Regions from separate parts of the Homo sapiens genome. Here all the other regions are linked to region 2. The links are contacts of gene promoters, found by promoter capture Hi-C in blood cells and fetal thymus (Javierre and others, 2016). All regions are on one chromosome and are shown on one strand. The core of a region is centred on a gene start or on the middle of the fragment in contact, and the rest is flanking DNA. Distances in the headings are between cores, read along the strand shown.

Evidence for each region. Contacts are between HindIII fragments. The CHiCAGO score rates a contact against its expected background, and 5 or more counts as called.
Region 1: a contact is called between a fragment that was not itself captured here and the fragment with the promoter of ADAMTS6 in region 2, in 2 of 17 cell types (M0 macrophages and total CD4 T cells). The highest score is 5.5, in M0 macrophages.
Region 3: a fragment that was not itself captured here is called in contact with the fragment with the promoter of ADAMTS6 in region 2 in 15 of 17 cell types (total CD4 T cells, total B cells, megakaryocytes and 12 more); the score reaches 18.4 in total CD4 T cells.
Region 4: a contact is called between a fragment that was not itself captured here and the fragment with the promoter of ADAMTS6 in region 2, in 7 of 17 cell types (total CD4 T cells, total CD8 T cells, activated CD4 T cells and 4 more). The highest score is 8.9, in total CD4 T cells.
Region 5: a fragment that was not itself captured here is called in contact with the fragment with the promoter of ADAMTS6 in region 2 in 3 of 17 cell types (total CD4 T cells, M2 macrophages and M0 macrophages); the score reaches 5.7 in total CD4 T cells.
Region 6: a contact is called between a fragment that was not itself captured here and the fragment with the promoter of ADAMTS6 in region 2, in 4 of 17 cell types (activated CD4 T cells, M0 macrophages, erythroblasts and 1 more). The highest score is 7.1, in activated CD4 T cells.
Region 7: a contact is called between a fragment that was not itself captured here and the fragment with the promoter of ADAMTS6 in region 2, in 16 of 17 cell types (fetal thymus, activated CD4 T cells, total B cells and 13 more). The highest score is 19.6, in fetal thymus.

The regions. Positions count from the first base shown.
Region 1 is chr5:64,646,508-64,650,000 of GRCh38, reverse strand. No RefSeq gene overlaps it. Among named protein-coding and RNA genes, the nearest start is that of SHISAL2B, 42 kb to the left of the region's middle. The HindIII fragment of the contact is 784 bases long and covers 1,108-1,891 here.
Region 2 is chr5:65,480,592-65,483,927 of GRCh38, reverse strand. It overlaps ADAMTS6 (ADAM metallopeptidase with thrombospondin type 1 motif 6), which reads left to right and starts at 2,008. Exons shown (of 25, transcript NM_197941.4): 1 at 2,008-2,585. RefSeq lists enhancers at 1,806-1,855, 1,629-2,128, 1,896-2,255. The HindIII fragment of the contact is 619 bases long and covers 1,581-2,199 here.
Region 3 is chr5:64,628,863-64,632,322 of GRCh38, reverse strand. No RefSeq gene overlaps it. Among named protein-coding and RNA genes, the nearest start is that of SHISAL2B, 60 kb to the left of the region's middle. The HindIII fragment of the contact is 710 bases long and covers 1,232-1,941 here.
Region 4 is chr5:64,728,485-64,731,907 of GRCh38, reverse strand. All of the region lies in intron 3 of SREK1IP1 (SREK1 interacting protein 1), which reads left to right. Among named protein-coding and RNA genes, the nearest start is that of SREK1IP1, 38 kb to the left of the region's middle. The HindIII fragment of the contact is 4,686 bases long and covers 1-3,423 here.
Region 5 is chr5:64,609,687-64,612,862 of GRCh38, reverse strand. It overlaps RGS7BP (regulator of G protein signaling 7 binding protein), which reads right to left. Exons shown (of 6, transcript NM_001029875.3): 6 at 544-3,176. Among named protein-coding and RNA genes, the nearest start is that of SHISAL2B, 79 kb to the left of the region's middle. The HindIII fragment of the contact is 2,217 bases long and covers 449-2,665 here.
Region 6 is chr5:64,748,743-64,752,040 of GRCh38, reverse strand. All of the region lies in intron 2 of SREK1IP1 (SREK1 interacting protein 1), which reads left to right. Among named protein-coding and RNA genes, the nearest start is that of SREK1IP1, 18 kb to the left of the region's middle. The HindIII fragment of the contact is 2,028 bases long and covers 656-2,683 here.
Region 7 is chr5:64,771,183-64,774,378 of GRCh38, reverse strand. The region is part of intron 1 of CWC27 (CWC27 spliceosome associated cyclophilin); the gene reads right to left. Among named protein-coding and RNA genes, the nearest start is that of CWC27, 3.9 kb to the right of the region's middle. The HindIII fragment of the contact is 3,566 bases long and covers 1-3,192 here.

The DNA.
Region 1 (3,493 bases), core at 250-2,749, 830 kb after region 2:
AGGCTCCATCCCTGTGTCAGGCTTCTCCCTGGGCACCAGGCTTTCCCATACATTCTTTGAAATCTAGTTGGAAGCTGATAAGCATCTTTTACTCTTGCATTTGGTGAACCTGCAAGCTTAACACTATGTGGAAGCTCCCAAGGCTTATGGCTTGTGCCCTGTGGTGTAGCAGTGTGAGCTGTACGTGGGGCCCTTTGAACTGAGGCTGGAGCCAGAGCTGTCAGGATGCAGGGAGCAGTGTCCTGAGGTCTAGCAGGGCAGAAGTGTCCTGGGCCTGGACCATGACACCATTCTTTCCTCTCAGGCGTCTAGGCCTGTAATGGGAGGGGATGCTTTGAATAATCCTAAAATGCCTTTGAGGCCTTTTCCCATTGTCTTGATTATTAGCATTTGTCTTCCTTTTAGTCATGCTACTCTCTCTAGCTAGTGATTACTCCACAGCCTGCTTGTATTCCTTTCCTGAAAATGCTTTTTCCCTCTTTGCCACATGGCTAGACTGCCATGGAGATTTTCGCTCGAAGTTACATTTAAAAATGCTTATCTCTATTATTTTACCAAATTTCTTATTTTTTAAAATTTCAAAACTATAGAAAAGTTGAAAGAATAATACAATGAATACTCTGCATACCCTTTGTCTGGTTCATCAATTGTTAATACTTTGCTACATTGGTTTTATCTCACTGTCTCTGTGTGTTTGTATATATGTATGGTTTCTTCCTGAACCATAAGAAAATAAATTCAAACATTAAGATATGCATACCTAAATACTTCAGTATGAATCACCTGATAACGAAGTATCATCCCACAATAGGCACAATTCCTAGAAAGTTGATAATAATGCCATAATGTCATCTAATATCTATTTTATATTCCCCAATGTTTCCAACAATGACTTTTATTTAAAAATTCAGGATTAGTCAAGGATTACACATTTCATTTGTTTGGTATGTTCCTCATTGTTTTTAACCCAGAAGAGTCCTTCTGGGTTTTTTTCACTTTTTTTGTGACTTTTTTGATGACTTATTGAAGAAATTAAGCTAGCTGATTTATAGAAGACTACTCATGGTGTAATTAAACTTGTTATCTTCTCTGTATTTCTTATAAGCTTTAAGTTAGATCTAGAGTCTTGATCAATCTCAGGTAAACATTTTGGGTAAAATATTTCCATATTTCATAATGCATCACATCAAGATGCATATAATGTTAGGTTGCCTCATTATTGATAATAATGTTTGAATAATAATACTAATACATTTGATCACTTGATTTGGGGCTGCCTGTCAGACATTTCCATTTTTATTAGTAAGCGATCTATGAGGTCATATTTTGGGATTGAGTTTTCACAGTGTCTTTTCACGCTGTGGTTTTAGAACCCATTGAGGATTCTTGTTCTCAGCCAATTATAACATTAGGAATTGAGTTACAAAATGGTGATTTTTTTTCCTTCTATTATTTAACCTATATTTATTAGCTGCATTAAAAAATAAAGATGAGCTTTTTTCTCTCAAGTATAACTATAGACTTTTAGAAGTTATAATCAATTATTGTCATTATTCTCTTTGATGCTCAAATTAAATTTAGTGCATACATTATAATTAATGCCAAATCTGGCCAGCGCAAGTCTCTATAAGCCAGCTTTTATCTCCCTTTGATATAACCTAATCAGTTCTGAGGACTGCTTTGCTTTGTGAGAAGATGCCCTGGTTCCCCTTAAACATTCTCTGCTGCTGCCCTGGAGTCAGCCATTTTCCAAGGTGTGTTATTACTTTAATGAGGAATGGTATTTAGAAACCCATCTGGGCATGGGTGAATCCTTAATGATGAAATTTCAGGCATTGCTGTTGGCTTTTTGCAAGAGGCCTTTTGGAGTAGTCATGCCCTTCCGAAAGCTTCTGTAATCATGCTACATATAATGCTGAACATTGTTCCTCAAAGGCATGAGACTAGCCTATGAGCCAGATACCATCTTGGAGCTTCAGAGAGCTGGATGAAACTGAGAAGGGCTGATTAGAGCAGAATCTACCATCTTAGTTTCAACCTATATGTCCTAAAACAAAATTATTTATGGAGAAAATTATGGTCTCTGCCCGCCCCCAGCTTTCTTACCCCACCTAGGTTATTGAACATAGTCCAAAGCTAAAACTTCTTCCAGGTGTCCTCCTTATTGTCTGGTTTACTCCACCCTTAGAATTAGTATAGTCATCTAAGAACGGATCCTAGAAGAATTAAGTAGTAGGCTTATTTGTTCAAGGGCCTTATTAGTCTACAGGCCTCAGGCTATACCCTTGGCCTTATAAACTCTCCCTTGGCCTTAACAGGATGAACATGGAATATCCAGTTACTAGAAGTGAACATGTATGGTTTGTGTAAACTCTACATGCCAATGTATGGATACATTTATGGATCCACCATACGCAATTTAATTTTCTGGTTTAAAGTTTCTTGTTCTAGCTCTGCAGAGCAGACAGCAGGTGACAGGACCCCTGCCATTCTGTACAGAGTTTACTGGTCACCCAATCAGGATTTGAACCAAAGGATCTAGAAATAAGTCTTTAGAGTTTAATGTAGAATTGGGTCTGATAGCTATGTGTAAGTGAGAAAGTAAAGAAAGATGGCTGAGAGATTATGGCAATAGGACTAGGCTGTAAAAAGACTGGGGTGAAGGATACCATACCATTACTAAGAACTATTTCACCTCTCAGGGTCATTCCCTGTCTTTGGAGTCTGTGAAGCATCTGTATCCTTGAAATTAACTTCTTTCATTCATAGAATTAGTTTGATTGTTCTTTGCAACTGGCAAATCTTGGCTTCAATACTATACAGTATAATGGTGCATATTGCTTCTTTCATTCTTTTTTGTTATAGAGAATCGTTGTGTTTTGGGTTATATTATCTGCAATTATCAGATGAATAGAACATTTTCAAATATTTGCTTAGGGGAAAACTGCATATAAAATATTAAATGAACACTACATCTACTTCTTTTGCAAGAGCAGTCAATTGTTTTGTGGATCTGTGCCTCTTTAGCTAAGACTTGATTTAATCTGTCAATAAGCAATCCAATCAACAGAAGCCTAGCAATGCTCTGATCATATGTCAGTCTCACACATGTATCTAGTTATATTAACCTCTCTCTAGATCCAGCTGTGGTTGTACCTATTGTGGAATCAAACAATACTCATAAGTTGAGAATGGTAAATGTTTTTGGATAGTGAGTCATAATAAAGTAAAAATGTGAAATATAAAAATACCAAGGGAGTAGAAATTTTAATTTGGGGTATGGAAAGAAAAATGCAGAAAATGACTTTGGCTGAATGTAGTTTGGTGTTGGTGTATGTTTGACCTCTTCCTGAGTCTGGCCAGCTCCAAAGCTGCCTGTCAGCTCCAGACCTGGGCACTGAGACAGTAGGTTCTGTTGTGAGGTGTTGGGCACTGTAGTAGATGTTACTGTTGCTCCTTACCCATTCTCTTCATTAGGCTGCATCAGGCCCTC
Region 2 (3,336 bases), core at 759-3,258:
TTGAATAAGTAATTAGCCAAAGTCCACTCCCACTAAGTAAGCTCCTCTACAAGCTGCTACTTTGTAGGGCAGTTTATCTTAGTTGAGGGTAAAATCTTTTCAGAGCTTATATAGATGTTTACTGCTCATACCTTTATTTTTTGTGTGTGTGCTGGCTGTCCCTATTTACTGCCAGTACTTGAAAAATTAAGGAAGGTTAAGGTTCAACACTATTTAAATAGTCATTTGATGCCTACTTTTCTTATTTTTGGTGTTTACAATTATTGCTATATTTTGCTACCTCATGTATTTCACATATATGTACACACATATATATACACATACAAATACGCACACATACATACATACATATGAATCATCTTTATTTAAAACTCAATGCCCACTATTGAACAGATTTCTACATTTTAAATGGCTTTTAGCCAGATACTACTGATTAAGGTCAGGATGAGGACTATTTACTCTGTGGACAGATGCTTTCCACTTTCAACCCTTGAAGAAGAATTGAAATAACTGTATTCTTGGACGTTCTCAGTCTGATTCATGCCTCCTTTTAGCCAACTATTCATAGATTCACCAGAAGAATTACACCTACTACCTCCGGCGTAGGAAGAAAAAAAAAAATCAAATGGGCAATAATGTTAGCAGAAGCTTGATATTTAAGAGCTGGTATTCAGAAAGATCATCCTTCCTACCCCCTTCCCTCCGGTCCAGTTCTCCTTTCTGGTTCTCACCATCGGAAATTGACTTGGCATTAACTAAGGGCTGGAATTTCAAGGCGTCAATTTTCCCCTGCCCCCAACCTCGGAAACTCTTAAACAGCTCCCTATTCTACACTCAATGGTAGAGACAGATAAATGATGCAGCAGATTACACCGTTGAAAGGCAACATTTGTCCTGAGCTATTTTCACATTTTTTCCTGTTTCCGATGTATGTGCCAGACTTTGTTTGCTTGCTTAGGACATGGAAAACACTGGGCATTTTCTCCCCAGCGGCTTTCATTCTCAGCAAATGAAAGTGAAAGTGCTACATTGTAGCGGTATTTTATCCTTAAAGTCTGGACTGGCAGCTTGTGTGTAGGGGGGAGGGAGGGTGGGATTGGGAAGGTTGAAGAACCAGTTTTGAGGTTTTGTTTGTTTATCTTGAGATCGCAGCAGGGTTCCTGTTTTTTTCCCTTCCTTTTTTTTTTTGGTGGTGGGGTCCTACTTCGGATTTATTTTCATTTGGGCAGTCATTGAAGTTTCATTCAATGGACTGACTTAAAAAAATACACTCCACTTGTGGCTTTTCCCGGTTGCACTTTAAAACACCATCCAGTCTCACCCTCATCTGGAAATAATGCAAGCTTCTCTCTTCCTTCCCCCGCTCCCTCCTCCCCTACTTTTTTTTTTTCTTCTTCTTCTTCTTTTAAAGCTCCACATAACCTGAAGTCGATAATCAAATGGAAAATGTGCTGGTATTAGTTTACTTTAGTTTACTTTCCCTTTTGGTGCTAACCTTACTTGCTGAAGTATGTATAAAACACAGGCATTTTGTACACTTGTAGCTACTGAGTCTTGTGCCTGCTGCACGAATCTAAGCTTTAAGTTTCCTCAGAGGCACTGTTTGCGTGCAAGTTTTAACATTTTGATTGTGTGGATTTTAAAAATAAAATTACACGGAGAATGACACCAGAGATCTTAACAGTGACATTAGTCCATCTAAAGTCATTCATCCTTCTCCCTCCCCCTTCATTTTTCCAAGAAACAACTAATAGCAAACCAGGCTAGAATTTCTAAGAGAGTTTAGAGGAGGAGGAGGAAAAGAGGCGGAATGAGATAGGACAGAGAGGTTAGAGAGGCCAGAATTTCTCTCATTCACAGTGTGGAAAAGTTGACATTGTCTAAGCCCTTCTGAATGGCTGGTAGTTGGTTACCCCGATTGTACCTCTACCTCCCCTCCCCCTCCACGTGACGACCCAGGACACATGCGCACCCGACGCAGCCCAGGCACATCTGCAGACTGACGTCAGTGTGCTCTGCCTCCGAGGAAAAGCTGCCAAAATTTTCTCCTGCTGCAATTCAAGTTGGCTGGGGGCCGGTAGTGAGATCTAGGGCTACTTCAACAAAACTTTGCTGCCCTTCCTGCTCCTCTTGTCTTCTTTTCTCCTGATACCTTTTGATGCTCTGCACATGTTATTTGCATAGCAAAGGCACTAAGCTTTCCAGGAAGAGAGGGCACCACTTCCACCCCCAATAAGTCTTTTTTCCCGTCTTTTCTTTCTTTTCCTTTCCTTTTTTGGGGGGTGGGGAGGGAGAGAAAGGGGGTTTGCAAAGGCAGCATCTCAGAGTGATAGCCTAGATGTATTGAAGGCATCTCTTATTCTGCCAAATCGGAAAGTCAGTTCTCTAAAGCCCGGGTTAGCCAGACCATAGGGTTTTATTCTGGCTGCAGAATAACTGGCTGGTGTGGCTTTGCAAAGGGGGGCAAAAAATAAAAAAATAAAAAAAATTAAAAAAAGTTAGAGAGGAGAGGGAGTACGTGAGTCGTCCAGTGCAATCTCTATTGTCTGAAACTTACTTTTTATCAGAATTTGAAGATGAAAACGGTAAGGAAGACTTAACAATATTCAATGGAGCTTTTTTTTTTTAAACCAACAACTTGTGCTTTGCTTGTCTTCCGAATAACGCTTAGAAAACTTTTTTTCTGTGTGTGTGTTTTTTTTTTTTTTTTTAATGGCAATGAGTGAGCTTGACTGAACTCATTTTACAAATAGATATCTTTTTAACTCCAGACTTGTCGGGGGTTGTAGAATTCTGGGACTTGCAGTTATTTTATGATGCAAAAAAAATACGTTTATTTTATGAATATACAATACATGTTTTGTGAAGTGGACTTGATTATGATTATTGTAATCTTTTAACTGATCACCAAATAGTAATCCGGAAGGTAATAATGATGTGTGTGTTTTAAATTGATTTCCAGTTTTCTTACAGAAAAGTCTTATGCATTTTGTAGTTTCATGTCAGTGTCGTTAAGTCTTCAGACAAGTGCATATTTTATGCCTGGGCTCAGAGGGTAGCATTAATGTGCTAGCTGTAGCCCCGATGCTCTAGGACATGTTAAGCTCTTAATAGGCTAATCAAAGAGATGGAAACGTGTGTTTTTGATTTACTTTTGGCCACTTGGGACGTGCTAGACTCATAACCCTCCGGAGCCTTGTTTATCGGGGTAGGTCTGTATATATGGTGTATGGGACCAAAGTTCAGGGATTGAGGAGGGAGAGTGAGAGTGCAGGAATGGGGTATTGGGAAGCCTCTTTCTGATAATATGTGCTACAATTCCTGTCTTTGATGCTT
Region 3 (3,460 bases), core at 337-2,836, 850 kb after region 2:
TGTATTATATTTCATGAGTAAATTTACTTTCCTACTTCCAAAAATTATTTCATGCCCTAACTCTCTCTCTTCAAATCAACAGCACCCTCTCAGCTCTGACTTTGTTTCTTATTTCATTGAGAAAATAGAAGCAATCAGAGGAGAACTGCCTCATTCTTCCATCACCAAGTAGATCAGACTACCTGTATTTGTATTCACACAACCTGACTTCACTCCCATTTCAATGCATCAGTGATTATCAACACGAGCTATATGTAGAATTTTTAAAATGCTGATGCCAAAATCCCACTTCTAGAGATTCTGAATTAATTAATCTACTGTGGGACATCTATTTTTTTCTTTCAAAAAAAATCTCAAGGGATTTTAATATACTGGTGGCATTTAGAAACAGGAATTTAAAATTCCTGTTTGAGTCCCTACCTAAGGGCAAGTCCTCTACTTATAAAGTGGATCCTACACTCTCTCTCACCTTCTCAAAACTTCATTCCTTCAACGAGCTCCCCTCCTTCCTACATGATCAATATTTCTCTCCTGGCTAGATAAGTCCCATCAGCATACAAATATACTCTATTGTCTTAATAATCCTTCTTTCTTGGCTCCACCTTTTTCTCCAGCTGCTCCCCCTTACACCAAAACTCCTTCCAGTAGTTGTCTAATAGTGGCTATCTACATCCCATAACCTCCAATTTTCCCATTAACTTACATTTGTCTCTGTCATTCAACATTAAAATCATCAGCAACCTACATGTTGGCAAACTCAATGACTTCTTTTTTTTTCTTTTAGAGACGGAGTCTTGCTCTGTTGTCCAGGCTGGAGTGCAGTGGTGTGATCTTGGCTTACTGCAACCTCTGCCTCCTGGGCTCAAGCAATTCTCCTGCCTCAGCCTCCAGAGTAGCTGGGATTATGGGCGTGTGCCACCACACCCGGCTAATTTTTGTATTTTTAGTAGAGATGGGTTTTCGCCATGTTGGCCAAGCTGGTCTTGAACTCCCAACCTCATGTGATCCACCAGCCTTGGCCCCCAAAAGTGCTGGGATTACAGGTGTGAACCACTGCGCCCGGCCCCAGTGACTTCATTTTAAGCTTTGACTTATTTCACTTTTCAGCAACATTTAGCACAGTTGATTTTTCTTGAACGCCCTTTCACTAGGCTAGAGCATCACTATCATCTTTCTTTCTTATGAGTGCTTCTTCTCAGACTTCTTTGCTAGCCCCTCTTTTCCCCAAGCTTTAAACCCCAGGTGATGCTCTGGCTCAGGGCCTGCCGCTAATCTTCTCCAGCCACATTGTTTCTCAGGGGATTCTCATCCATTTCCATGTGTGGGTAGTTCACACAGATGTTTCTTGAACTCTCATCTCTTTTCTAAGAGCGAAGCTCATATCTCCTTGCCTCTCTAACATCTCAATTTGGGTTTCACATAGGCACACAAGTTCTCATTTCTCCACAACCATGCCATCCCACAACTTGCAACCTGCAAGTTTTCCACATCTTAGTAAATGGCATCTGAGTCACTGAGATCAAACTTTTTTAGTAGCATCCTTTGTTCCTTTTTTCCATCACTTTATATCCAGCTCACAAACAAGTTTAGATTACTTTCTATTACCACTTCTCCTCATATCCCATTGTTACCAGTCTCATCCATGCCATCATCCTCTCTTATCTCGGCTATTTTAACACTGTCTTAACTCTGCTTCCACTTTTGCTCTACAGTCTGCTCCCACACAGCAGCCAATAAATCTTTAAAATATAAATCAGATCATGCTACACCTAAGCTCCCCCGTGCCCTCTCCTAAGGGCTTCCCATAACACTTGGAATCAAATCCACACTCCTTAACATGACCTACAAAGTCTCACATTTGCTACCATTCCTACCAGTCTCCTTTTCATTCACTCTGCTTCAGCCACATGGATTTATGTGTATCCCCCATAAGGCCAAGCTTGTTTCTCCCTCGGTCATTGTTTCTTCCTCAGTCATTACATCTTTTGTCCCTCTTCCTAAAAAGTTCTTTCTAGACATCTTCATATGTCTGGCTCTTTCACATTGTCCTGGATTCTGCCTCCATGTTGTCTCCTCAAGAAGCCTTCTCTAATCACCCACTGCAGAGTAGAGGGAAGAATATTTATTTATATTGTTTACTGCTGTCTTCCCTAGGACTTGACACAAAGGCAGCTCTTAGTGAACAGCTGTTTAATGAATGAATGTTTTGTGCTGCCTTTAGCATGAGAGCCTTGGTATCCACCCTAGGATATAAGACACAAGGTGGCTGTGTATCTGTAGGAAACAGACAAGTGGTGTGAAGAGAGTTTAATTTAAAAAAAATGTAAAAAGTGTGGACAGGATATAAGGAAACCACAAGAGATAGTGTGGCCCTCCAAGAATATTAACAATGGGATGCCTTTACAACTCTTAGGGAGCAGAACCTAGAGAGAGGGTTGCATGGGGAGGACCATCTGCCAAGAGTCGAGACATTCGATCACTGCATGTAGTCAGCCCACTGTGACCCTGCAGGGAGACAGTCAGTGTGACACATGTCCTGATTTCATTGTCTTTCTCCTCCCTCCTCCCTCCTGTCAGGCTCCCCTTTGACAGACACATTTGGAAGCCAAAGGGCAAGGGAGCCCACTGATGGAATTCACATGGCTAATCCTCCTGGGGCACAGAGCAAGTTGGAGAAGATTAGAGATAGAGCTGGTGGAGCAGAAGAATATCTAACACTCATGCCTGGAGTTGGAAAGTAGCTTGTTTCCCCCCAGTAGACAGGTTGACTAAGTATTTAAACGGCTGCTTATTGTTAGGAACACATTATTCTTTTTAGAGTTTGTCTGCCCCTTGCATGGTGAGCTGCTCGAAAGCAGGCATCTCTCAGTCATGGATCATATGCACAAAGTATAGTTGACCCATGGTATCTGAGGGTTCCACATCCATGAAGTCAACCAACTGTGGCTTAAAAATATTCAGAAGGAAACAATAAAAAATACAAATACAATAATAAAAATAACAGATAAAACAATATAGTATAACAACTATTTACATAACATTTACATTGTGTTAGGTATTATAAGTAATCTAGGGTTGATTTAAAATATATGGGAAGATTGCACAGGTTATTTGCAAATACTATACTACAGCATTTTATGTAAGGGACTTAAGCATCTGCAGGCTTAGTATCTGTGGGGGTGGTGGGGGTTGGTGGTGGCGCAGGGAACCAATCCCTGGTGGATGCCAAGGGATGACTGTATGTGGTGAAGCTATCCAAATATCCTTTAGAATGGTAATACTTTTCCAAACAGTTCATGAAGTTCTCTTATCTGTGGTTCTTTAAGTTTGTATAGAATTTTACTACTTATGGAGGTTTCATAATAGCTTGGAAGATCAGTAGGACGAATGTTATTATCTCTGCAGGGCTGATAAAGAAACTATGGACAGGGGTCCGTGACTCCGTGCTACACGATGGGTG
Region 4 (3,423 bases), core at 327-2,826, 750 kb after region 2:
TGATAGCATGCAAGAAAGAGGTGGCCAGCACCACAACCAGAAAGGAAGAGAGAGAACTGAGAGCTGGAAGGCATTAAAAATAGTTCTTGGAATTTCAAGACTGCTTTCCTTCTTAATACATTTTATCTTTGGTCTGGCCATTATTTTTTTCCTTAATTACATTTTTAGTTCTCTAAACTACATACTTCTCACTGATTGTCTTTAATAACTCACATTTTTTATATGTTCAAGACATCATCAACATATTGTCTTAGCAAAATGCCCTTTTGAGGCTCCTGTCATTTGGCTTTCCTGCTTCTTCCCATTTTTATTGTCGTCCTATATCTAGTTCAGGCCATTCCTCACAATTATTTTAAGATTCCTGTCCTCTTTTTTTTTTTTTTTTTGAGACAAGGGCCCACTCTGTTGTCTAGGCTGGAGTTCAGTAATGCAATCATGGCTTCTGGAATCACTGCAGCCTCAAACTCCTGGGCCCAAGCAGTCCTCCGCCTCAGCCTCCAGTGTAGCTGAGACTACAGGCATGTGCCACCATGCCTGGCTAATTTTTTTTTTCTTTTATAAAGACATGATGTCACTATGTTGACCAGGCTGGTTTCGAACTCTGAGTCTTATGCGATCCTCCAGCCTCAAACTCTCAATTGTCTTATTTTTCATCTCAAGTCCTCTCATTGTTCTTAGAGACATTCTTAGATGACCTGTGAATGACCTGACAACACCCTAACTCATCTTCTCCACCTTATCATTGAAAATGATCTTTTCTGTCTCTTCACCTTAGCCACACATTTCCATGATTGCACCCTGGACCTTGTTCTCAGCCTCCAAAATTAATGGCATACACTGTACGCTTTTTACTCCAAGTTCTTATCTTTCCAGTTTATTTAATGTAAAGACCCTCAGGCTATTGACCCACCACTTTCATTCAGTTAGTCTTCCCCTTATCTAGCTTAGATTCCATCATAGTTATCACCATTATTCTTTTGCAAATATCTGTAACTGCCTTACTCCTTTCTTTATCTTTTACCCTTATCTAGCAAAACCCCAAATATGGATGAACCTCTTTGCCTTCTCTATGCTGATCCCCTTACAGCAGTGCAAAGGTGAAGAGGCAGACTGGTGTTTCTATAAATTCATGATCCCTAATCTCAGCTTGCATTTATTTTTGCAAGTTCACTCCACATACTTATTTTATACCTTTCCCACTTCTCCCTTCCTCCTTCGGCTAATGACTCCCTCTTTCATTGACAAAATAGAAGACACCAAATGAGAGCATCTTAGCTTCCAATTACTGAATCCACAAATTTGCATATATATATATCCATCTTTCTTTTCTTTCCTTCAGTTAAAATGGAAGGACTGTCCTTCCTTTCGAAGGCATGTCCTACCATAATTGCTATGAATTCTTTTCTTCAAGAATTTTATTCCTTCAGTTATCCCCTCTCTGCGTCATCATTTCAATCAGCATCAATTTTTTTTCGTTTTTCCCATTGTTCTTCCCTAGATCCTTTGCATCCCTGTAGCTAACATTCCATTTCTCTGCTGCTTTCTAGCTAAACTTCTCATCAAAGTTATTTATTCTTACTTTCTCTACCTTTTTATTTCCATTTGTTTTTCAGTCCACTTGTCAAGGTCTTTAAATACTTTTTGCCAAATTTATTTGGCGTTTTTATATCCACATTCTACTTGGCCTTTAGGTACTATTTGATAGGTAGCCCCTCTCTTCAACATTCCTACTTCTTGGTTCTGGTATTCTTCCAACCCCGTGGCCCTTCTTTGTCAGTCTTTTTGACAGCTCTTCTTCTTGCTCTTCTCAGCCCGTAAATGTTGGAGTTCCTCAAGATGCAGATAATCTTCCTGGGCTTTACTCCCTGTATTTTTTTCTCATCATTCTCTTACTAAATGATTTTATTTATTCCCCATAGTTTTAAATACTATCTATAAGCTGATCAGTGTGTGTGTCCAGACTAATCTCTAAACTTCAGAATCACATACCAAACTACCTACTTCAGTTACCTACTTGGATGTCAAACAGGTCTTTTAGATCTCAAATGTCTAAAATTGAAATCTTTACTTCCCACCCACAATTGTCCTTCAGGCTCCTACCCACTTCCCACCAATCCACATTTTAATCAGTGGCACTGCTAAAAACCTGGTGGTCATCCTTGATTCCTTTCGTTCCATCATCCTTCGCACACACATATCACCTCAGGACACCATCTCTGGCCTGCACTACTCCAGTTACTTTATTATTCCCCTGCCTTTTCCCCTTAGCCCTTTCCAATTCATTTACCTTGTAAGTCTGCCGATCACACAGTCCGTCTCACTTAGAATGTAAAATCCTTACTGTTGCCTTCATGGTCTTGAATAAGCAAGTTCCTGCTTACCTCTCTGGCCTCTCATTTCATGGTATTCTACATGTATTTATGATATTGTTCATCTGTTCTCATTCATGTTCATTCTTATTCATAGTTGCCCCTCCCCTTCTATCCGCAACAACCTCTTCTTAGTTTCTAGAACGCACCAAACTCTTTTTGCCTTGGAGCTTTGGCACTAATTTCCTCTTCCTGACATGCACTACCCTTGCTGTTCACTTAGAATGCTATCTTTGCCTGTTAATTTTCTTTCTCACCACTTAACTATAAGTTCCCTGTGGGCAAGGATCATGCACAGCAAAGACCCAGTACATAGCACAGTACTTGACACATAAGCATTTAGTAAATATTTGTTGAATAAATGAAAGCGTGGTCAATAAAAATCTCCTAGGATTTTATGAGACAAACTGATGTCTATTCTTTACCTTGCCAAATAACCCCAAGGCTTCCTCCCGAGTAGCTGGGAGTACAGGCTCCTGCCGCCACGCCTGGCTAATTTTTTGTATTTTTAGTAGAAATGGGGTTTCACCATGTTGTCCAGCCTAGTCTCGAATTTCTGACCTCATGATCCACCCGCCTCGCCTCCCAAAGTGCTGGGATTACAGGCATGAGCCACCGCGCCCAGCCTGCTTTTTCTTTAAATATACACAAGTTCTGTCACCCAGAAATACTTCTTATATGTACAAAGATTTCCATTGCTTATTGTTTCTAACAATGAAAGTAGAAATTGATAAAATATGGTTAATGGGAACACTTCTGTGTTTAATAATGATATATATTTAATGACAAAGATAAATATCTGCTATGTTAAGTGAAAAAAAAGCTGCAAAATATATGTGACAGTACATTTTTCAAAGGCAAAAAATACTTGGAACTTATATGCAACTATGTGTGTATGAGTAAATGTGTGTGTATTTGGTTTTATATAAAGAATGCCTACAAGAATACACACCAAATAGTGTATTTAAAAAACAAGTTAGAGAATAATACATATTGCATGATCCTAATTTTGTTGCAAAATAAAATTTTAAAACTGTGCACTGTTGTAGTGTTC
Region 5 (3,176 bases), core at 308-2,807, 870 kb after region 2:
ATTTATCCTGAGGCCAATAGTATCACAGCTTTTTCTCATCCTACCTATGGTTACCTGAAAGTTGAGCATTTTGTATTTGGTGACATTCCTAAGACAAAGAAATGATAGACGTTGCCTGGGTATGTGGGTAGGGTGGGAAGTTTGACCGGATGATATGCTTAATCCTTTCAATGTTGACACTTTCAGAGTTTTAAATTCCAGATGGGATCATTGTTAATCTGGTCCATTTGTTTGCTGTTTAAAACAAAGTAGATGCTTTTACATTCTGTCTTTATTTCACCTCACTCTGAAGCTCAGCTTTCAGTAGGTGGCAGTATTGCCAAACACTCAGTATCCCGACTGGTTTCGTAGGAGCACAGAGAAACAAAATGGTCTGGCAATTTTAGAATTTCCCCCAAGAGCTTTAACTCATTAGAGGAGGCATCAGGACTATGCTACTTCTAAAGCTTTCTTTATACCCCTGAATAATGGCATAACCAGAGGTTTGCAGTGAGTCTGCTCCTAGATGCGTGCAAAACATTAGCGGACAGAATTTTTTTTTTCTGGCTTGTTTTTTTTGTTTGTTTTTTTAAGTGACACCTTGGCCTTGTGGGCATTTCTTCACTTATCTTACCCAAAAGTGCCTTTGGGCCCAGCCACTGACTGATTTAAAACCCAGAAATGTGGTTTTAAACAATGTGGTCGTGGTGGAATTCAGGTGATTTTTATTTTCTATTTGGTAGTATTTTTCAGATTTCCCACAAAGAACATGTATTGTCTTTGTAATTTGAAAAAAAAATCAACACAGGATAGTAAAGATATGGTGGGAAAATGGGTGAATGTATGCCACAAAAGTTTACATCATTTTCTGTTTCAAGCCTGTGGGTACATGCGACAAAATGAGTTCAATGTTCTCTTCTTAACCCTAGAGATCAGCTCAGTGTTATTGCTAATCTGAAAGCGAATTACCAGCAGGAAGCCGAGACAGTAGAACTTTATCGCTTGGAACCACACCTGAGAAAATCCTTTGGTAGGTGAGAGGAGAGTGGGGCAGCTCCTAAGGGATGCATTGGCCTGTCTAATGTGAGACGGTGAATTACCTACTGTAACCTTGGGCCAGTGTAGGTTACCAGGGTTTTGAGCACTAAACTTAATTTTAGTATATGCTACTGAAAGAGGATCTTTAGATCTTGGAGTTTATCCACGGGAACTACAAAACTGATCAAAGGCTGGAAAACAGGCACTATGAATAAAAGATACGGTAGCTGAATATATTACCTTAAATATGCAAACTCTGGCTAGGTAATTAGACAAATTCCCATCTCCATGAATAGCTACTATAGCCTTTTCAGACATGGAGGTGAGACCTGAATTTATTAACAGTCTTCAGTTGTACAAAGGACAATTGCACAGAAGGTAAGTGTTACTTTCACACTGAGGCTAAGGTGAGAATGAACACAAGTTAACCAAGCAGAAGTTATTTAGGTCAGGCATTTAGAAGAACGTGCTGAACAAGATTGGGCTTATCAGTTAATAACTTTTGCATGGATTAGTAGGAACTAGATTGAAGCTAGAGTTCAATATAGTTGAAGTATAGGAGAGGGCAGAGGCAGGTGCTGAGAGCTGCCAAACTGGGCTACTTCAAAATTTCAAAAACAATGGATCTTAAATGAAATGACCTTAGTGGGTGAAAATGAATTAGATTCAGGAAAGGATATTAAGCTGAAATCAAGGTTTGCAGACCAGATAAGTCTGGATTGCTTGCTTTTCCAGGGAGTATTTACCCTAAGAGTCTTTAAATAGCCAAATTGTTTTACAAATATTTGATTCAGAAAATTGTGATTTTCTCATATAGCTTTCCACGGCTACTTCTTTTTTTTGAAGCCAGGTATACCTATAACCATGCATTAATTACTGGTTCCTTGGAACACAACTCTAGATTCAAAGAATAAGGCCAAAAACCAGCTGGTATGATCTAAATAGAGACCTGTATAACGTTCTCTTCCAACCCTTTAATTCTTTCACTTTCAATCAAAAGAGCTAGAAGACAATTCCAAGTATAATTTCCACATTGGATATTAGGGTGAACTATAAGAAATTGCCATTTTGTAGGTCAAAACAGTCACATATAGGAAATTTCATATAATTCAACCTAATACAATAATTATTACAGTAGTTCATCTTCACTAAAGCAAAAGGCCTTAATATATTTAGTTTTTAGGTAAAAATATTGGTATACATATAAATGCCTGTGCACATAAGTATTGGTAAAGAACAGGGTTGGGACTAAAGATGTGTCTTGGATAAACCACTTATCGGCATCTAGCTCATCCTTCTATTGTACTGGACACTGGTGCCTCCTGTCTGACTTGAAGGTTTTTCAGACTATGGAAAACAAGAAAAAAAGTGCAAAGACTTGATCTCTCAACCCATGGGAAATTCTGTCTGGGAAATGGGCCAAAGGAAGAACAGGAGACGGTATAACAAAATTTGTACCATGTTACAAGTTTAGTGAAGGAAGATCACAACAAAGCTGTGAGCAGAAAAACAAAGCATGTGGCTTCCTCCTTTCTAAAATATAGTATTGCTTAATGTGTCCTGCTTTCAAGAGTCTAAGCATAAGACAAGACACCAAGTACACGTTGGAAAAATCTTATCTGCATAGTCATCTAAAATGAGACAAGCTTAGCTTAACTAAAAAACTTTATTAACAATGTAAAATGTTAAATATTTTTATAATCTGAGCTAATTCCAGCATGCCCTATAAGATTTAACACTATGCTGATGTGCAGACACCATGCTTCAGATTTCAATTAGAACAAAATGTAATAATATTTGATTTTACATTTGAGGGCAATTGTATATGTTACTACACCATTTCCTAACTGGATTACTTCATTCTCCAAGAAGCTGAAAAAGACATCATTGGATCAAAAAGAAATTAGTTGCCCATATGCATTTGTACGAAGGTATTAGGATTATTGTGTATTTACAAAATTTTAGTACTTTTCATATGTGGTTTTTGTTGCTTTATAAATTAAGATACTTTTATGTTGAAGCTCTTAGATTCTGACAGAATGGAAGACTAAATGTAAATGAGTGCAGAGAAAGCAATAGGTGAGGTGGTATATGTTTGCTTATAATATTATTTCTAATGATATTGATAGATTGGATTTTTGAACACAGTTTTTCAGTTT
Region 6 (3,298 bases), core at 420-2,919, 730 kb after region 2:
AGGCCTTGGGATTATTTATGGGATAAATGTCTCAAATAATCATGATAGTTTTCAGAAAGTATGATTAAAAGATTAGTATAGTAGACCCAGTGGTTGATCACAGCAGCAGGAAATAAAAACAAATATGTAAATACCTTTAACATTTTACATAAATATAAATTTGTCACTTTTTTATTGCCTGTTTATATGTCTGTTTATTGGTGTTCAGTCTTGTGTGTGTAAACCACATCTGAAATGCATTTTCTATTTTTTATAGTTTGCTTCTTCAAAGGTAGGCAAGAAGTTAAGATACTTGTAAAGAAATTTATCATTAATTCTCAACCACAGGTGGTACTGCCTCCCTAGAAATCTGTAGAAGTGTTTTTTATTGTCAGCAACAGGATGGAGGGTGCAGCACTATGACGCTTACTATGTAGAGCCCAAAGATTATAAACGTCCTACAATGGTAGGACAGTCCTGGACAGTGAAGAACATTCTGGCCCCAAATGCCAATGGCATTCCCTTTGAGAAGCAGGTACCTTGTCCCATTATTTTAGATTATTTTTTTCCTTTTACAGTCTTATTGCCATTGCTGAATTTGTCAATTGCTTTTTAAAAGCAACTTAATTACATCTTTCTAAAGGTACAGCTTTTGTTTCCTAGAAACAACCAAGCTTTTTTTCTCCACATTTATATTTTGTTGACCTATATGATATTTAATTAAACATATTTTAGAATAATAACAGACTCCTCATAGAGTACAATATCAGATGGTGGAGTAAAATAATATAGGCATAAACCGAGGGAAAAGTGACCGGGAAAATATGGCAGAAGAAACAAGAGCATGTAGCATCACATTAGCCAAAGGATGTGGGGGAAATTGTCAGGTGCAACAGATAAGAGTTATAAGAAATGAACTGAAAAATGTTCTTTGGGTTTGGCAGGTAGGATGCTTTGCTTCCCTTAGCAAGATCAGTTTAAGTAGATTTGTAGGTCATGAAACAAAGTGTGTAGATTCAGGCCTGAGTGGTGGGGGATGAAATAGAGAAAGCCAATGTAGTCTCCATTTTCAAGAAATTTCCATGAGAGAGGTACAAAACATTGAGTAATTTCTGGAAGAAACTGGGATAAATGGAGAGGGTTTTTTTCTTTTTTCTTTTTTAAGGTATAAAATGTTGGTATAGACTGAGGGAAACATTAGAGGACATATTACAAATACTGGAGGATAAGGAAAGATTAAGCAAGTTCCTCTAAGAGGTATGACAAGGATACCTCTGAAGTTTGGAAGAAACTAGATGAGAATAGATATAGATGTTTTCAGGTGGTGATAGAAAGTAGGAGATCCAGCCTGGTAATCTCAATTTTGTTTGTAAATTAGAAGACAGGATTGCCTCCTTAGGTAGGGAGTTTGAGTAGGACAGGACAGTGAGTGATGAATGTTTTGAGACAGGTACCAGTTTGAGAAAGTCATTGAGGGAAGTAGGAGAGGAAGTTGACTAAGGACAAATAAAAAATGCTAATATGCATGAACAGGTGGTTGTTACACTCAAGCATTGCCTGACTACTCTGTGAGGTGGTGGGGGAGTGGTGGGTAACAACCCAGAGAAATAGTAACTTTGAGTCAGATTCATTTGTCTGCAATGAGGATGAACAAGGGTATATAAAAGAGTCAGACTTGTAAAAGGTTGTTCATATTGTCAGTAATAAGAGATTTGAGACTGGGAGAAAATGAAGGCATTAAGGGAATGAAGATCATAATGAGAATCAAAAACAGATCTATGCATGAGTGTAAATGAATGAAAAAGCTAGAAGGATGAAAGACACAGTCAGAGTTTAATATTGGAGTTTAAAATTTCAGAGATAAAACAGTTGCAGATGATAACAAGGACCATAGTGTGACCATGGAATCTAGAATGTCAGGGAACCCAGAAAAGCTATCCAACAACCTAGGCTGTCCATTCAATCTCGTGGCAGGGCTTGGGGTAAAGAGTTAGAGTATGAGCCACATTCAAAAAATTTCAATGAATGGGGCTGTTAACCTGCAGCAGGGAGCTGAGTGGACAGTTAAGGATTACTACTTGGAAACAATATTGAGAAGCCTGGAGAATACTAATAATACTGAGGTAAAGGATAATTAACTATAGAGAAATGCCCTCAAGGAAGAGCCAAATATCCCTTAAGTGTGGTGGCAACACTATGTGAGCGCATAGGACAGTTACATGTTTAAGAATCTATCGAAAAAGACTAGGAAAGGGGCAATGATCAGCTAGGTCAGTGGGGAAATAAAAGATAAATATGAGGATAAGACTTCCAAGGAAGTTGGCCAGGTGCAGTGGCTCATGCCTGTAATCCTAGCACTTTGGGAGGCTGAGACAGGCAGATTGCTTGAGCCCAGGAATTTGAAACCAGCCTGGGCAACATGGCGAAACCTCATCTCTACAAAAAACAAACAAAAAAACTAGCCAGGCACGGTGGCGTGCACCTGTTGTTTCAGCTACTTTGGAGGCTAAGGTAGGAGGTTGGCTTGAGCCCAGGATGCAGAGGTTGTAGTGAGCTAAGATTGTGCCACTGCACTCCTGCCTGGGTAACAGAGCCAGACCCTCTCTCAAAGGAAAAAAAAAAAAGACTTCAAGAAAGAATATATGACTACAGAAGAGGCCGGCATTTTTAGGGGTGGAACCAAAATGTTAGGGATGTGGAAGCTTGGTGGAATGAACTGGGTTTAGGAATTTAAAAGCTTATAAAATAGCTTGTGTGTTCTCAAATCTGAGGATTTTAGGTAGAGCTAAAGCCTGGTTAAATTAGTAGCTGTTAGCATAGTCTATATATTCTGTAAGCCCAGAAGTAGACATTTGGGTACCCTATTTATAAAACAAGAGGGTTTTTGTGTGTGTGTATAGATTGACAGATTTTTATCTGTACAGTCAAAATGAAACATGAAACTGGAGGGTTTTTATTATTATTATTATTATTATTATTATTATTATTATTATTATTATTATGTGGCATAGCTACTCCTGGAAGGAGGAAAGGGGAGAATATACTTGTCCTTGTATTAGTAAAATAAATGGTCATAACCTGGTACCGTGTATTAAATACCTATTTAGTGCTAGTCTCTGTACTAACTGCATGAAAGATATTATTTTATTCTTAAAATAACTCTGAAATAGGTTTCATGATCTCCAGTTTTATTAACATTCAAGACAAGTGGTTCTGGCACCCGATTACTTAGGTACAAACCTCTGCTGGCACTTACTAGCTATGTGACATTAGGCAAATTGCTTGATCACTGTGTTTCAGTTTCCTGTCTGTAAAGTGG
Region 7 (3,196 bases), core at 160-2,659, 710 kb after region 2:
GGCTAGGAGTTCAAGAACAGCTTCGGCAACACAGACAGACCCTGTCTCTAAGAAAATTTGTTTTAATTAGCCAGGCATGGTGGTGTTCCATGCTATTTGGGAGGCCGAGTTGAGAGGATCACTTGAGCCTGGGAATCTGAAGTAATAGTGAGCTATGATCATGCCACTATATTCCAGCCTGGATGACAGAGCAAGACCCTGTCTCAAAATAAAATAAAACATGACAAAACCCCAATAATGCAAATTTGTTATAATTGAGTTTCCCATTGCATCAATTCCAATAAAACTGTGTAGCAAATTAAGAAATTAAAGAATAATGAACCCATTAAATTGTGACATTATAGGACAATTTTATAATTACCCTTTTTAATTACCTTTTACTCTCTCTGCTCATTTAACATCATGCTATTCCTAATTTACAAAGGAACATTCTTAATCTAATTCTGGCTTGTGATTTACTAAAATACTATGTCTTAAAATCACCTTCTATAGTAAATAGAATCCCGTGATAGCCTTTCCACCAGCTCATAACAGCAGATACTCCTTGGTAGAACCAGAAACTTTGCAACTAGAACCCCTCCCTGCTGGGCCCACAGGAAACAGTTTATAACTGTCTTATTTATAACCACAAATAACCAAAAAGAATGTTAGGCTCTAAATTTGAACATTGTGGCATAGCTGGAAACCAATTTCTCCAGTATTACTTCTTCTTTTTTCTCCCCTAGTATACCAAAGTAGATCAGTGTCAATAATTTGTGACCATCACAATCTTTTAGAATGCTCTTTCAAGTAAAGAGTATGCAATATAACTGTTCAAAAACATGAGGCTGTTTCTCATAGGTCAGTATCATCAATGCTAAGTCACATTTCACCACCCTAAAAAGAAACCCTGTACTCATTAGCAGTCACTCCCTATTTACCCCTACTCCTACTCTCTGGCAGCCACTAATCTACTTTCTGTCTGTGTAGATTTGCCTATTAAACATTTCATATAAACAGAATCATACAATATGTGGCCTTTTGTGTCTGGCTTCTTTTACTTAGCATAATGTTGCTTTCAAATTATATAGGGGTCTTTCAGTTCTACACATCTAGTTTTTAAATGTCTTGAAAATCACAATGACTTTATACTCTTACTGGTAAATATTTCAAGACACAATATATATTTAAGGCAAAGTTCACCATTGAAAACAATAAATAGAAATCCATATTTCCAATGGTCTTCATAATAATTTCTGATTTTTTTGACAGACTTCCCATGCTGAGGTATCAGCTCTATCATGTTCTTATGATTTGCTTGTTTATATTATTAATAATATCTTCAATAAGAAATTTGTGATGGCTGGTTTAGTTAATCTAAATACTATGGTCTATAAATCTATTTGGCTAGTCGTTATGAAAAATTACACCACAATGCCAAAAAAGTGCCTTTTTTTTTTTTTGAGACAGAGTCTCACCCCGTTGCGCAGGCTGGAGTGCAACGGCACGATCTCGGCTCACTGCAACCTCTGCTTCCCGGGTTCAAGCAATTCTCCTGCCTCAGCCTCCCGAGTAGCTGGGACTACAGGCACCCACCGCCACACCCAGCTAATTTTTTGTATCTTTAGTAGAGACGGGGTTTCACCATGTTGGCCAGGCTGGTCTCGAGCTCCTGATCTCATGATCCGCCCGCCTCAGCCTCCCAAAGTGCTGGGATTACAGGCATGAGCCACTGCGCCTGGACTTTTTTTTTTTTTTTTTTTTTTTTTTTTTTTGAGACAGAGTCTCACTGTCTCCCAGACCCGAGTGCAGTGGTGTGATCTCAGTTCACTGCAACCTCCACTTCCTTGGTTCAAGCAATTCCCCTGCCTTAGCCTCCTGAGTAGCTGGGATTACAGGCTCACAACATCATGCCCGGCTACTTTTTTTGCATTTTTTTTAGTAGAGACAGGGTTTCACCCTGTTGGCCAGATTGGTCTTGAACTCCTGACCTCAGGCAATCTGCCATAGTCTCCCAAAGTGCTGGGATTATAGGCATGAGCCACTGCACCCAGTCATCATCTTTTTATATATATTAAATAATGAATTTAAACAAAGGAAAAAAATACAAATATATATAGATTTTCTCCCCACAGCTCATGGATGGTTTTGCACACCCACTGAAGTATGCACTCACTGGTTTAGAAACCACTGCTCTAATGAACACACTAATTACATCATCCCTCCCTCCACAGGCTCTGGAATCAGGATGCCCAAATTCAAATACTGGCCCTTCCATTTACTAGCTTTGTTACCTTGCGCACACTATCTGACATCTCTGTCACTTAATTTCCTAATCTAAAAACGGGATAATAATATCTTTTAGGATTTCTGTGAGGACAAAATGAGCTGTAATACATAGACTGCTTAGAAAAGTAAATGACAAATAATAAGTGCTCAAAAAATGATAGTCATTATTACGTGGTTTTTTGGCCACAGGCAACTTACACCTAGTAAAAAGAATGCATATATAATCGGGCCACTTTGCTCACCAGGGTTTCTTAATCTTTTCATTAATAAGCTACTGAATTAATAAAGAAGGTATATGGCTCCTTCCTCCTCTGGCCATACATTCTCTTTGGTCATCACTACTTTGTAGGCCTCCTTGGCTCTTTCTCTTAAAATTCCCAATTAATACCTTGATAATATCATGTTTCTTATAAACATATATGCAAATATACTTATAAAGCCATTTTGATTTTCAAGATATTTAAAAACTAAGTGTGTACAACAGGAAGACAGACCCCTATCATTTGAAAGCAACATTACACTAAGTGAAGAAGCCAGACACAATTTAGAATAAGTGATCATAATATGTGGAAATTTCATCTTCAGGGAATTACCTCTTATGCTTAAAAACTTTCTGTCAAGTACTACATTTCTTTGCCTCATCTTCAGGGGCTAGGGTTACAGCAAAACACAGAACATTTATGGACAACCAGGGACCAAGCACTGGTATCATGTATCAATTACTTCCCAAGCTGATACTAAGTTCTTTGAAGGGAGGAATTTTGTCCCATTTACTCTGAATGTCTCTGTACGCTTTCAGCACCTAATGTACCATTAGATAGTAAAGGCAATAAACATTCGTTGAACAGACTTATTACATGTGCTTCAAATTCTTCACAGACCAAATTTTTGTCCACACTCTTAACCTTACAGAACTTAGAAGCTTTAA